Regions from separate parts of the Homo sapiens genome. Here all the other regions are linked to region 1. Evidence: promoter capture Hi-C in human tissues and cell types (Jung and others, 2019). All regions are on one chromosome and are shown on one strand. The core of a region is centred on a gene start or on the middle of the fragment in contact, and the rest is flanking DNA. Distances in the headings are between cores, read along the strand shown. Region 1 holds the start of CADPS2 (calcium dependent secretion activator 2). Region 2 overlaps CADPS2 (calcium dependent secretion activator 2). Region 3 overlaps CADPS2 (calcium dependent secretion activator 2). Region 4 overlaps CADPS2 (calcium dependent secretion activator 2). Region 5 overlaps SLC13A1 (solute carrier family 13 member 1).

Region 1 (2,638 bases), core at 61-2,560:
ATTTGAGTCATTACTCGTGTCTGGTACAGAACATCAGGCCCCTGGGGTCTTGTTTTGAAACTCAAGTTGGCCAGCCTTTCACCTGAAACAAACTTCTTACCTTTTGGGGGAGAATAAGCATTTTGTTCCCCAAAAAAGCATTTGGAAAGCATTTGTTATGAAGTGATCATGCACCAATCCTTTATCTTTCATCAGTAATAGTATATTTCATTAATCAGGCCTGCCCAGACCAGAAATTACTTACCCACAAACACTTTACAAAGCTGCATGCCTTCTCGGTGTTTGGATTTGATGTCCTGGTTGTATGACAATATAGGAAACGTATTAATTTAACTTTTTTATTCACTGAGGAAAATTTCTACCCCTCTTAAGTGAAGACTTCACTCTAGCTAAGAGAAGTACTCGGGCTCCACCTGTTTCGCCTAGCTACAACACTCATTCAGACCCTCGGCAAACCCAGCTCTAGCAATATCACGCCAGGCTAGGTGGACAGGAATGCACCAGTGCTGTTGGAAATTAAAGTTGATGGGAGTTGCATTCTAATCCGGCCAGAGCTGCGCCTGCCGGGTGCAACCGCGGCGCGGCCGGCGCTGTCGGTCTCTGTCTCACGGATGGTGAGCTGACAGCTCCTGCCAGCCCAGGCGGGGAGGAGGAGAAGAGGTGTCCGCTGCAGCCGCATACCCGGCGGGTGAAAGCACCGTCTTGTCCCCAAAGATTCCTCTGCCCTCAGAGACTAACAAAAATACGGTGTCCTGCGTTTCGCAGAAGGACGGGAGGCGTCCCAGAGCTCTCCCGGGAGAAAAACCCAGGGAGAAGTGGTGGTAGGAGGCGCCCGGTCCCGCAACTCACCTTCTGCTGCCTCCGGGCCATGTCGGTGGGCTGCTTGGCGTTGAAGGGGTACGCGATGCACCTCACGACGAAGACGTAGAGCTGCAGGCGGATCCTCCGCTCCTGCTCATCGTCCAGCTGCCGCTGGGGCTCGTCTCGCCCCTCGCTGAGCACAGAGGGGCTCGGGCTCACAGATCTGGCCGCGCCGCCGCCGCCCGCGCGCCCCGGCGCGTCCCGCCGCCCTTCCCGAGTCGGGGCTGGAGGAGCTCGCTGCGAGCTGCCGGCTGCCACCAGCACATCGCGGCTTTCCTCTTCCAGCCCCTCGTCCGACTCCTCTTCGCTGGAAGACGGGTCCAGCATGGTGCTCGGGGATCCCCGCCGCTCGGCCCGCGGTCCCCAAGCGCCTCACCCCCGGCGGCTGCGCCCGCGGGTCTGAGGGAGCCGCGGGGCTGGCTGCAGCGGCCGCAGAACGAAAGGAAAACTGGCCAGGGCTTTCCGGACACGTCGAGTTAGATTCAGGAGTGTTTCCTACCACCAGGGCGAAAGGGGCGGGCAGGAGCCGGGAGGAGGATTGGGAGGGGGGAGAGGGGGAGCCGCCGGGACTGAATAGGCGGAGTTAGCGTTGGGGGTGAGCTTGGGCGCCTCAGGAATTGCTCCGCCAGCCCCGGGCGCGCCGACCCAGCGGTTCCCCAGAGCCCGCCGGCAGAGGCGGAGCCGCCCGAGCGCCCGGACGCAGGTGGGGAACCTGTGGCGCCTACAACAAGCAACACGTGGAATTGAATGTTGAAGAGCCGCGCGGGGCCGCGGAGTGCGCGTGCGCGCGCCGCCGCTGCTGCCCGGGCCCGCCTGGAGCCCTAGCACACAGTTTGCAAAGGCGGGGAGCGGCCGAGCGCGATGGCCCGTGTAAGCGTCCACCGGGGCTGCTCCGACTACCCTCACCCTACCACCTGTGATCTTTTCTCCAGCAGGTGGAGGTGGAATGGGGAGCGGGGAGGGACTGTTCCCTAGCAAGAGGTTAGGGGGAGCGGCCGAGACATCTCCCCAACCCGAATCGGCTGCCTAGGATTGAACCCCAGCGCGGAAAAGCGGGACTGGAGCCCTTCACCACGAAGTATCTTTGCGACAAGACTTTGAAAAGTCTCACTCTGCTCTGCTGCCGTTTTGATACTCATGCTGAAGCCCAAATTATAAAAGTCGGAGTAATGAAAAAAAAAAGAAAACCAACGAGGCTTACTTTTTAAACTGTTCTAGTCCTGCAGACTCAAGGCAAGAGAGATTTTATATGTGCAAAATGATACTGATTCAGCTCAAACATATCTCGATTATTTTCTGGGTTGGGATGCAGTTGACTCAAAACAGGTTGTGTAGTGTGGACATTTATTCAACAAAGATTTGAGCGCCCTCCCGGTGTCCAGCACTGTTAGCCTTTTGCGGAGCCCGCGGTGACTAAGGCACATGACACTCAGTCGCTGGTGGTTCTGGCCTCAAGTCGGCGTCTTGTAGCTGCGCTGAAGCCTGCCTTATCTGCGCAGATTTCTCAGTCCTAGTGCTGGAACCACCTAGGAGTTTCTTATAGTAATTCTGTATCTTATGTCCTAAGTCCTGACAGAGGGGGAAATAGGCAAAACAATGCATTCAACACCAGGTGGAGTGTGCAGCGACCAGGTGGGCAGGGAGGTGATGAAGTTCAGTGGAAATAACACAGGGCAAATTAACTACCAGCTCTGAGCTCCTCTACCACCATGGTCAAACAGCAGTTTTAGCTTTTTCAGGCCACTTTCATATAGTTAGGTACACAAGAGAGACTTCT
Region 2 (2,638 bases), core at 37-2,536, 460 kb before region 1:
ATGTTTGTTTTCACTCATTTTGTAACATTTCCAAAGCATTACAGATGGCTCTACATCCTTCAAGCTTCACACCAAATTGCTGATTGTTGTAATACATTTCAAACAGTGACATTTAAAACAAACATGCCAAAAGTAGCAAAGTTGCTTGATGAATTTCAATGCATTGTTCTTGGCTATGATTCTTCTTTGCTCTGGAACACTTTTGGTTTTCTGTAACACTCCTTGGCTCATTGAAACAATTCATTTTTAATTATACCTCCATACATTTAAGAAGAGATCCTACTGGGGAAGGGGAGGGAGGATGGAAAGATGTAAAAAGACAGCTCGACTGTTTGCTTTGGTAGGGTTTCATTCTACTCCATGGCTTAGAAAGGGGCATATCTCCTGGCACACTGGACTGGGCTGCCTCCCTTGCTGCTATTCCCTGTCAAAGTCCCCGTGATGGATGCACAGTGATGCTCATGGTGAAGCTTATACCAGGATGTGGGAAGAAGACCAGTGAGATACCTTCCTTTTTATCCGTATATGATATGTAGTAATTTGTCATGCTTTGACCTTAACTTTAAAATTTTTTAAATTGATGAAAAAGTATTTGCTAATAACCCTACATGATGATTTATGTATATATTATGTAACAATTGTCACAAATTAATTTTGATGAGAGATTTTAAATGTCCTCACCTCCACTCACCATGATCTTAAATTTAATGAGCTGATTGTATCTGTACTTGCAGCTAAACAATAAATAGTGTTGAAGATGGTGTTAGACTGAAGGACTATGGAAATAATTCCATTCCAATACTGCCCTATCTTCTTCCCTCCTTTGCATCTAGGCCATGATGATCAGCTAGGGAGCATGAAAAAATAATTCCTGTATATGCATTCATTTCTTCTTTGGTTTTTAAACTCCTCAGATTCCGTGGCCCTGAATTTGATTCAACAAACATTTTATTCCATGTAAGGTACTTCGCTAGCCACTGAGGGGATACAATGATTAAAAAGATATTATTTCTGCCTTCAAAGAATTTACATATATCTCTTTCTAACCAGATTATAAGGTAGAATATGGCAACCTATAATCCATTTCTGGTCAACATAAAGAAGATCTGTTATAAAGTCTGTAAAGAGAGTGAATTAAATGTAAGCAGTATGTAAGAACAGGGTTATTAGCTTGCAAGAAATAGGATCAAAGATGCATCAATAAGAAGGCTTTAAATTGCTGTGTATATCATATGGAGTTTTTCAGAATGAAATTATTGTGGTGGGTATGTGTTCGAGTTTAGAAAGCTAGCAACAGTCCAAAGTGGAAGTCTTTCACCTCTTCCCCCTCCCATTCAGAGAAAAGCATTCACTCACTCCTCTGCTTCTTCCCTCTCCAGCTAATGACTATATATCAGATGGATAATGAAAAAGTCCTGACGTTCAGGAGATGGCTGAGGTGAGAAACACAAAAATCTTCATAAGGGACTATAGGGATAACTTCAGAAAATCAGAAAAGAGGTGTGGAAAAAGGGAGAAAATGGGAAAATATCTACTATCTAGTGAAACAAGGGAAAGGAAGGACTATAGTTTGGCAATAGCAGGGATATGAGCACAAGGAAGCAGTCACCTGGGGCACTCTCTGAAGTGAGGCCCAAACAGCGAGGCTTTACCTTGAGAGCCTGTAAAGAACAAGGACATTACGGCCAAAGGCACAGCATCTAATTTCTTCTACGTGGAACCCCAAATGTCAGCCAGTAACAAGGACTGTCAGCCTACTCTTGTGGACTGCTTGCTGGCAAAACTTATCTACCATTAGGCCCAGCTGAAGAAATGGTGGAATGGATCCTTCCTTTTCCCTCTCCCCACTAAAGGAGATAGTGATTGATCCCCTAGCTGTTCCCCCTGCAGAAATATAAAGCAACATTACATTACACACTCTCACACACATATACACAATGCTTTGGGCACATAAACAAATTGTTCTAATTACAGAGATCAGAAAATACTCTATCTTAGGTAACTCATCAATGTTAGATGCCTTCTGTTCATTTATAAACCATAATCCCCTGGCCAGGCACGGTGGCTCATGCCTGTAATCCCAGCACTTTGGGAAGCTGAGGTGGGTGGATCACTTGATATTAGGAGTTCGAGGCCAGCCTGGCCAACATGGTGAAACCCCGTCTCTATTAAAAAAAAAAAAAAAAAATAGCCTGGCGTGGTGGCACACGCCTGTAATCCCAGCTACTTGGGAGGCTGAGGCAGAAGAATTGCTTGAACCTGGGAGGCAGAGGTTGCAGTGAGCCGAGATCGCGCCACTGCACCCCAGTCTGGGTGACAGAGTGAGACTCCGTCTCAAAATAAATAAATAAAAATAAAAATAAATAAATAAACCATAAGTCCCTTTAGTCTACCTTAGCTAGCCAGGGAATTTCTACTGGATCCCCAGTCTACTCTAATTTGAATCTTAACTCTGATATCAACATCCTCCCTCTTTGCATAGTACAGACTGATGACTCAGTTGGAAAGTCTAAATTTTTATCTAGATTTTCTGACCCTTCCTCCAGCTCTGGCCATAGCAACCTGTGGTAAGTTACATGGTGCCAAAGTCTAGGGCAAGTAGGCTCCAGGAGGTCAATCCTGGCCACATCTCAATACT
Region 3 (2,638 bases), core at 67-2,566, 350 kb before region 1:
GCAATTGACCTAAGTAGAAGAGCTAATTACATGGAGTAAGATAATTAAACGATTCTCAATATGTAATCAAAAATTATGGCTGGAAGTGTTTCACAATGTTGTCTTTTTGTTTTCAAGTATCTGCCTATCTGCAAAATTCTAATCAGTGTATCCATATGCATAAAAGACAGATCCAGTGCAGATGTTAATTTGTTGCATGATAGAAATCAGGTGTTCAATTACAAATAATGGGGTGTATGAGAGAACGTCCAAGATTTCCATTTAGCCGAACGCATGCATCTCTGCTGGCAAATGATTGCAAAGCATTCATATTGGAATTAGCTACTAACATGCACCCAAGGCACATCACATTCAACTCCTTTATTATCCTCATTATATAATATTCACATCTCCAGCTCTGTGTATTACCTAATTTGCCAATGATTTAGGAGTCTGAACATTTGCTGATCTGAATTCTATTTATTGCACCTGAATTCTTTTAAAAGCGTGATTCTGATTTTTATCTAAACTCTAGACAACTTTAATATGAGGGATTTTGTTTCCTAATCTTACATTTAAACAATCAAAATCATTTGCTTTTGTAGTAAGGTAAATTCCTTGAACTGATATGATCAGTTCAAAATAGGCTAAGCTTTTAACATATCAAGACTATTTCAACAATGCCTCCCAACATAGTCTCTAAGTGATATTTCAGCAAAGTAACTACACAGAGGAGAGCAAATATATTTACTAGGCTGAAAGATATTATGCAGATTTGTTTTTCATATAATTCACTACAAAGTCACAGGCTTAAGGCATAGTTATAAATTGAGATATTCACCATGCCAAACTTACAAACTGATACAATTCTGAGATGAGAAATAAATGTCAAACTGATGATGAATTTTATGTCCTAACTCAAGACCCTAATATTTAGAGTTTGTAAATTATTGAGTAAATATAGGCCAGGCCTCAGATAGCCACAGAAGAGATAATTGATTTGATGGCAGATTAACAGTAATGTACATCAATGGAAATGTCATTATTTTTAATAAATGACATGAAGAAAGATTTAAACAGGAAAAAAGTGCATTTTTAATTCCTTTCATTCTCTTATTTCAATGAAATCAATTTCAAAATATGTGAATATCCAAGGTTCCTTAGCCACTAAGAAAAGAAGCAAATACAGTTTCTGAGTATGTGGCAATTAGCAGAACCTCTAAATTATTCAAAAGTAGTAATGGGGAGGGATGTTTCTATAAACCAAAAAATAAAAAATGGTGACTCATGGACCAAATCTGGCTTGCCAATGTGCTTTGAAAGCTGAGCATTTAAAAATATATTTTGAAATCCCTTTTGCAGGACATGTTCTCCTGATTTCTATAATCCTGATACTTCCAGTCCTCATGACTTTTAACCTAATCACTTTACACAAGTATTTGAGTTGCCTGGCCTCTGGTGGTACTTGAGTATCGTGAACTGACAGTGATCACTTAAAGAGAAAAGTATTTTGTATTAGTAGGTGGTGTTGCCTAGCAGTTTAGAGAATAAGCTCTGGAATCAGACAAGTGAGTTCAAATCATGGTCACTTATTAGCTATATGGCTTTGGGCAAATTTCTTAACCTCCTTATGACTCAGTGATCTTGTTTGTAAGTTGGTATCATCATACCTATCACATAGTGTTGTAAGAACTAAATAAGAATATTATTTAATGTGATAGATTCTTCAAATGTATTTAATCTACTATATCTGGATGTCAGAGATGTAAGAAGTCATATGTTTGGATCAGCTTGCTAATTAGAGTAGTAGCTGAGTACTCTAAAAAGGTAATAGTATACCAGATAATAAATATGTTTTATTTTTATAAAGTCTGTTAAAGAACCTTTCCAGTATGTTCACAAGACTTTTACAAAACAGGCATAATTACCAGAATTATCCTATTGATATTGACCACACATTCCTGTAAGAACTAGTAGAGAATATTGCTGTATCATTGATGAAAACAAATATATATTTGGATTTTTGATAATAACTCATGCAAATAGATCTTGTTTTAAAGCCTAATGGCAAGAGTTGTAGATTGATGGGATGATATACTGAGCCCCACATCAGTGAAAGTGACTTGTGTCTCTTGGGACCTTTTAAAACTTTTACAAAAATTCCACTGCGAGTCTTACTCTCACGTTTTCCAATAATACTTTATCAAGCATTTGATAAAGTGAGGATAAAGAAGGATAACAAGACCTTAGAGGAAACCCTAGACTATTAGCACCATATCTACCCAACTGAACTAAGTGGCTGCTGTGAGGCAGTCCTAAACTATCTCCCTACTGGGAAGAGAGACAGAACCTGTAGCATGACAAGGCATCCTTATACAAATTGCCTTTTGTAATTGGGTTTCTCCAAACCTAAATTTTATAATGTAAATTTATCTCCACAGAATAAAGCAAAACAAAACAATATTAGACAAATGATATCCTTTTGCTTTTAAGAAAAATGAATAGTTGTAGAATAGTTATAAATTATAGTTACTGAATAATGAACAGACTAGAAAAATAGAAGTATTTAAGATTATTTATTAGGGACCTGTTAATTGCAAAACAGTGTGTTAGGAATTAAAATGAGGAATTAAAGATGAAAATGACACAGATCATTGCC
Region 4 (2,638 bases), core at 75-2,574, 310 kb before region 1:
AAACTAATAGAAATCCTGACTTCAGTTTTTTAAAAAATTTCTAGTATACAGAATGATCCTAGCATCTTTTTGCATCTAGCACTGTACAAGCAGTCCATTAATACCAGACAGAAATTTTCAAGTAAGATTTCTGAAGGTTTTATTTGCTGGAAAATATCTCTGAATACAGTCTTCAGGTCTAGGTAAGATAGGTTCACATTACAGAGGGCGGGTGTTGGTGGCTTATGCTTGTAATCCCAGCATTTTGGGAGGCTGAAGCGAGTGGATCACTTGAGGTCAGGAGTTCAAGACAAGCCTGGCCAAGATGGTGAAACCCCATCTCTACTAAAAATACAAAATTTAGCCAGGCAAGGTGGTATGTGCCTGTGGTCCCAGCTACTTGGGAGTCTGAGGCACAAGAATCGCTCGAATCTAGGAGGTGGGTTGCAATGAGCCGAGGTTGTGCCACTGCACTCCAGCCTGGGCAACAGAGCAAGATTCTGTCTCAAAAAAAAAAAAAAACCCATTAAAAAATTCACATTACAGAAGACATCTTCATATAGACTACTCAATTAGAACACCTACTTCATTTATAAGTCTGAAGATGACCTTTCACACAGATTTACCTAATGTTAATGCTTTTACTGACAGCACAAGCTGAGTATAGTAAGGGTATACTGGGATTAGAAGGTAAACATATATATATTCTAGGTATGAAGAGGTGACTATAGGAAAAGAATAATGTTAAAAGGTGTGAGAAAAAGGGCTTTTCATGGGGAAAGTGGAAAAGATAAGAGAGACAGATGCACTTCGGAGATATTCTGTGATTAATCACAATGAACATGAAGAGCAGATGATTTCAAATATAAAGATGATCCTTTGAACCCAGGGACAAAAATATGTTACATGAGAATTACCCTTCACCAAGAGCAAGTTGGCCAGCACCATTCACATTCAATGGCCAGTGGAGCACATGTGTGAGAATGACTGAGTTGGTGACAAGGAATTTGTATTTACCCCTTACACAACCAAATCCTATCACAATACTTTCTGTGTTATAGACAATTAGATTTAATAAATTAGAGGTGTATACTGGGCTTGTGGGAAATAACAAATTATTTTATGTAATTTATGAACATAAAGTTCACATATGGCATACTGATCTACCTTAATCATGAATCCAAAGAAGTTAAAACTGTTCTACCCTGGACACACAGGCTGACCACAACTCACCCTTCCCAGTTCTTTATCTTCCAGGGCCAGAACTCCAGTGCTTTCTGTGAAGAGTTTCACTTTGACCACAGGCCGAGGATGGGTGGTGGTGAAATCTCCTTGAGTCCCCCATCTGTAATGAAGTAAAAAAAATGTTTCTTAAAATGCAGCATTATTTTTTTCCCCAAGGAGATGTGTCTCCATAGAAGGCAAATTAAATACAGAATCTTCTGTGCTCAATGAGCTTTTTATCTTTGCTTTTGTTTCTAGCAGATGGCACAATCAAGAAGGAAAAGAACAATAAGCTTTACAGCTTGTAATAGTTACTCAGCTATTCAAAAAATTAGCATGTTGGACTATAAAAAATTGCATGTTATGAGAATTTAGGTTAAGGTAAAGCAATATAGTTGTAGCTATTGAAATCTATTACTTTATTAATTCAAATGTAAATTATAGCACCATTTTTACTGGCAGCTGGGAAAATTGCTCAGGGTTTGTTTACGTAAGAGAGAGTTTCTCAGAAAATGATTTTTATATACTAAAGACTTTACCCCACCTGAGAGGTCTTTATTAAACATTATCTTTTTTTAAAGTAAGCATAATTATCTCAGATCTATTACTTCATATGACTTTTGAAGCTCCTGCCAAAAAGAAAGAAATATGCATCATAAGAATCTGAATGTTTTGTAGTTAATTTCCCACTACATTCTCTTAGGAAGGGAATAAGTCTGTAGACATCTGGCTTTTGAAATCATCACAACAAAATAACATGCTTTCTTGGCTTATCTCTTAATTAATAGCATCTTGCCTTTATTGCAGACCAGTTCATTCTACCTGATTTACAAACTTAACTGGCACACACCTGATATTAAAAAATCTTATCAATATTTCTCACAACTCTGAGAGATCAGATGCAATGAGACTCAGCACAGCATGAAGAAGATGCCATTGAGCAAAATACCAGAGAAAAAAATGAGATTTAACAAAATACAGATCATGTTAAAAATAAAACAACAAATAAATATCAATTTTCTTATGCTGTCTTGAAAAAACAAAACAATTCACCATTTTCACGGAGCTGTCTACATTTTATTTTATAAATCTCATTCGGAGAGCTTACAACATACAGAAAACTCAGTAAAGCAGGTATAATAAAAATTGAACAAATAATTGTGATTGCCTTCCTCTCCTATCACAGCATTTATAATAAATGTATACAGTAAAGCAGAGACCATTTCAATGACTGAAGAAACTGGCATCTAGATGCAGTCTTTTTTTTTGAAATATCATAAGCCAGAGGGAAGAGAAGAATCAATTAGGGAAGAAAACAGCTTAATTTCTATTTTAGACTTCCAGAATGGGGTTAGCAAAGAGACTTTTTGCAATTTCATATAATTAAGATGGTTTACATAAAGCAATGGTAAAATAGGAATAAAAACAAAAATAG
Region 5 (2,638 bases), core at 102-2,601, 290 kb after region 1:
AAATCAATGGCCATTAGAAAGAAAAGACTCGAAGTTAGGTGGGAGGGGAAAACCCAGTAAGAAAAGAGGATCAGGGAGGATAAAAAGTGCAAAAAGATCGACTGGGGCTCCAAAATCAGGAAGAAGGACGTGAAAATAAAGAAGGGAACCATTCCTTTCACAGGAAGAAATGTAATCAAGGGTTTGTTAAAAAGAAAATGACAGACAGGTAAGCCTCAAGAGAGCAATGTTAGACCCAGGCAGAAGATAGAAGTCCAAAGGTGATAAATTGCACTGACTGGTATCTCGAACTTAACATCTTTCTTGAGATTGTTTCAGCTGTGGTTTAGACAGTTGTTCACTGGGTGGCTGGAGACTGGTTTCAATGCGTTTGGGAAACCAAATCCACTTTCTTCAGATGGGTACTCTTAGATTGTATAGAACAAATAAACACCTCTTAGCATGAATAAACTCCTCTCAGCAAGAACAAAATGGAGCTATACATGAACATTAGTTTGGCTTTATCTTTTGAAATGGCAGGTTTCTGGAAATGAAAACAGGGAAACTTTTTCTTCATTAAAAACAAAATTGTTTTTCCAACACCGTGAGGCTGAATTCTGCTGAATATAAAAAGCTTATGGAGGATGTCAACAAATTTCCCTGTTTTTGAGAGGGAGGCACTAGGCATAGATGTCAGTGAGAGAAGAGGGGACATACATTTCTCCCACTGACATGCATGACTCAAGAAGCTGCAGCTTGTGTTTGTTCTTTGAAGGTGGACACACATGCAGAATGCCAGAGAGGAGAAACAGTTGGAAGTTTGGGGGACTTATGTGGAACCTTACCAACGAGATGATTGCTCCCTTTAAAAATAACTTTTCTCAATGGAAATCTCAATACAAAACAGGAAATCAACTTATGACATTGGCAAGAGGACTTACCTTCTTAGAAGGCATGATCCCAAACATGGGTAACATTAAACTAGGTAGCAAAGCTGTTACCGACAGAGGCAATGCTTCTGTGAGCCAAAATGTGGCGACCACAAAGAGTGTGTAGGCACATTCTGCTTCCTGGTAAGAACAAATGCAAAGCAAAAGGTGATATTATGAGGCTGGAGAAGTCAACATTCAAACACAAACATGTTTGCTTAATAGAGCCATGTCACAGAGAACGTAAGAAGATCTGAAGACCTCTGCATCTTTGAGTTGCCCTCAAATACTCATTTCTTAGAAGTTCTAAGAAGCAAAATTTAATAAACATAAAAAACTAAAGGGAGAAAAAAATCCCCATTCATTACATTTATTTCACATTTCCCTCAAAAGAGATAATCTAGTCCATTTTCTTGCTCATATTAGTGTATATAGATGTTTCTACTCACTTTCCTTTGGCCTATAAAATGCACTCCCCCATACTTCCAGAGTACAGAAATAGCCAAGTTACAGCCTTTCCCCTGGGGGCAGGATACCTGCCTTTTAAATGCATTCCTTGGTGCCTGGTTGAGTGGGACCTAAGCACTCCTGCCTTCCTCTCCTTCTAACTAAAAGGGGAAAACCAACCTAGGAGAAACCTTTGCCGTACTGTGTCTCAGAGAAAAGACATGACAAGTTGTGTGGCATGGAAGAGCCTGAATGCTACTCTTAATAGAATCTGTTGCTTTGCTTAGTATAAAACTATAGGTTCATGTTTTAGGGCATTGTTAAGAGATGGTCAAAATTTATCATTATATTTAACTTATATAGATAACTTTGGTATGAAATCACCTGGAACGTTCTAAGTCTTTAGTAAAGGTTAGCAGCTATCAAATGGTGCTATTTTGCTCTCACAGTGCTTACTCTCTGCAAATTCTGAGTTGCATTTGAAAAATTTACAAAAACTGCTGTTTAGGTTGAATGAAGTTATTAAGCTTTTATTTTTGTCTGGCACTACTGCTGTCTGATTCAACTGCCTCAGGGTGAGTCCTTGGGGCTTGGGATTTACTTGACCAGCATCCCTACACTTCCAGTGCATTTCTAAGATATCCTTAATAAGCCAGGATTAGGCAGTACCTTTATTGTGTTATCTATTTAAAGGAGAAAGAATGAAAGTGTTTTGATGTTGACAGTTTCATACAGAGTCTGCTTCTACCATCTTGATAAACAATAAAACAACAAAACAAAGCTGAGCCTTGAATGGATCTTCCTGAACAGCTCTAGAGAGAATTGTGTATACTAGCTTAAATTAAAATGCCAGCATGGAAGAAAGGTTGTGCATTTTCTCTTAATGAGAACACATGGATAGCCTGAAAGTTCCTGTTATGACTTTATGTTTTCCATCATACTTGTAAGAACCTAGGTTGCAGAGATAAAATGGACCACTTTTAATCTTGCTCTCTAGTTACAACTAGCCACTATCTTGATCCTATTTATTCCCCAGTCATTATATCTCTCAAATCTGCCCCTCCACCCACTTCCTCCACTGCAGGCAAGACTATTCCAATATCAGGTCACTTTCCAAGAATCCATTTTGTATTTGGCATTCCCTTACAGAAAGCCAGATACAGGTCTAGCCACCCTGACAACTATCTGGAGCACCAATCTATGAGGGTCTGCTAAAACATCAAAAAATAAATAGAATACATAGTGCTAGCTGGTTCTGTTCACCATATACACCCCCTGCCTTA

Evidence for each region. The method cuts DNA at HindIII sites, captures the fragments that hold promoters and counts their contacts. A contact is called where the count stands out against the background at its distance.
Region 2: a contact is called between a fragment that was not itself captured here and the fragment with the promoter of CADPS2 in region 1, in 1 of the 25 tissues and cell types used here (heart left ventricle).
Region 3: a fragment that was not itself captured here is called in contact with the fragment with the promoter of CADPS2 in region 1 in 1 of the 25 tissues and cell types used here (H1 embryonic stem cells).
Region 4: a contact is called between a fragment that was not itself captured here and the fragment with the promoter of CADPS2 in region 1, in 1 of the 25 tissues and cell types used here (H1 embryonic stem cells).
Region 5: a fragment that was not itself captured here is called in contact with the fragment with the promoter of CADPS2 in region 1 in 1 of the 25 tissues and cell types used here (hippocampus).

The regions. Positions count from the first base shown.
Region 1 is chr7:122,885,150-122,887,787 of GRCh38, forward strand. It overlaps CADPS2 (calcium dependent secretion activator 2), which reads right to left and starts at 1,311. Exons shown (of 30, transcript NM_017954.11): 1 at 850-1,311. The coding sequence starts at 1,188. RefSeq lists an enhancer at 599-648 and silencers at 1,009-1,138, 1,179-1,228, 1,239-1,318, 1,389-1,548, 1,559-1,718. The HindIII fragment of the contact is 17,974 bases long and covers 1-2,638 here.
Region 2 is chr7:122,420,623-122,423,260 of GRCh38, forward strand. The region is part of intron 17 of CADPS2 (calcium dependent secretion activator 2); the gene reads right to left. Among named protein-coding and RNA genes, the nearest start is that of FEZF1, 120 kb to the left of the region's middle. The HindIII fragment of the contact is 3,745 bases long and covers 1-2,638 here.
Region 3 is chr7:122,533,693-122,536,330 of GRCh38, forward strand. All of the region lies in intron 8 of CADPS2 (calcium dependent secretion activator 2), which reads right to left. All of the region lies in intron 2 of LOC105375481 (a long non-coding RNA gene), which reads left to right. Among named protein-coding and RNA genes, the nearest start is that of RNF133, 160 kb to the right of the region's middle. The HindIII fragment of the contact is 4,878 bases long and covers 1-2,638 here.
Region 4 is chr7:122,579,967-122,582,604 of GRCh38, forward strand. CADPS2 (calcium dependent secretion activator 2) reads right to left here. Exons shown (of 30, transcript NM_017954.11): 7 at 1,213-1,324. Among named protein-coding and RNA genes, the nearest start is that of RNF133, 120 kb to the right of the region's middle. The HindIII fragment of the contact is 4,038 bases long and covers 1-2,638 here.
Region 5 is chr7:123,180,053-123,182,690 of GRCh38, forward strand. It overlaps SLC13A1 (solute carrier family 13 member 1), which reads right to left. Exons shown (of 15, transcript NM_022444.4): 2 at 921-1,049. Among named protein-coding and RNA genes, the nearest start is that of SLC13A1, 19 kb to the right of the region's middle. The HindIII fragment of the contact is 3,497 bases long and covers 1-2,638 here.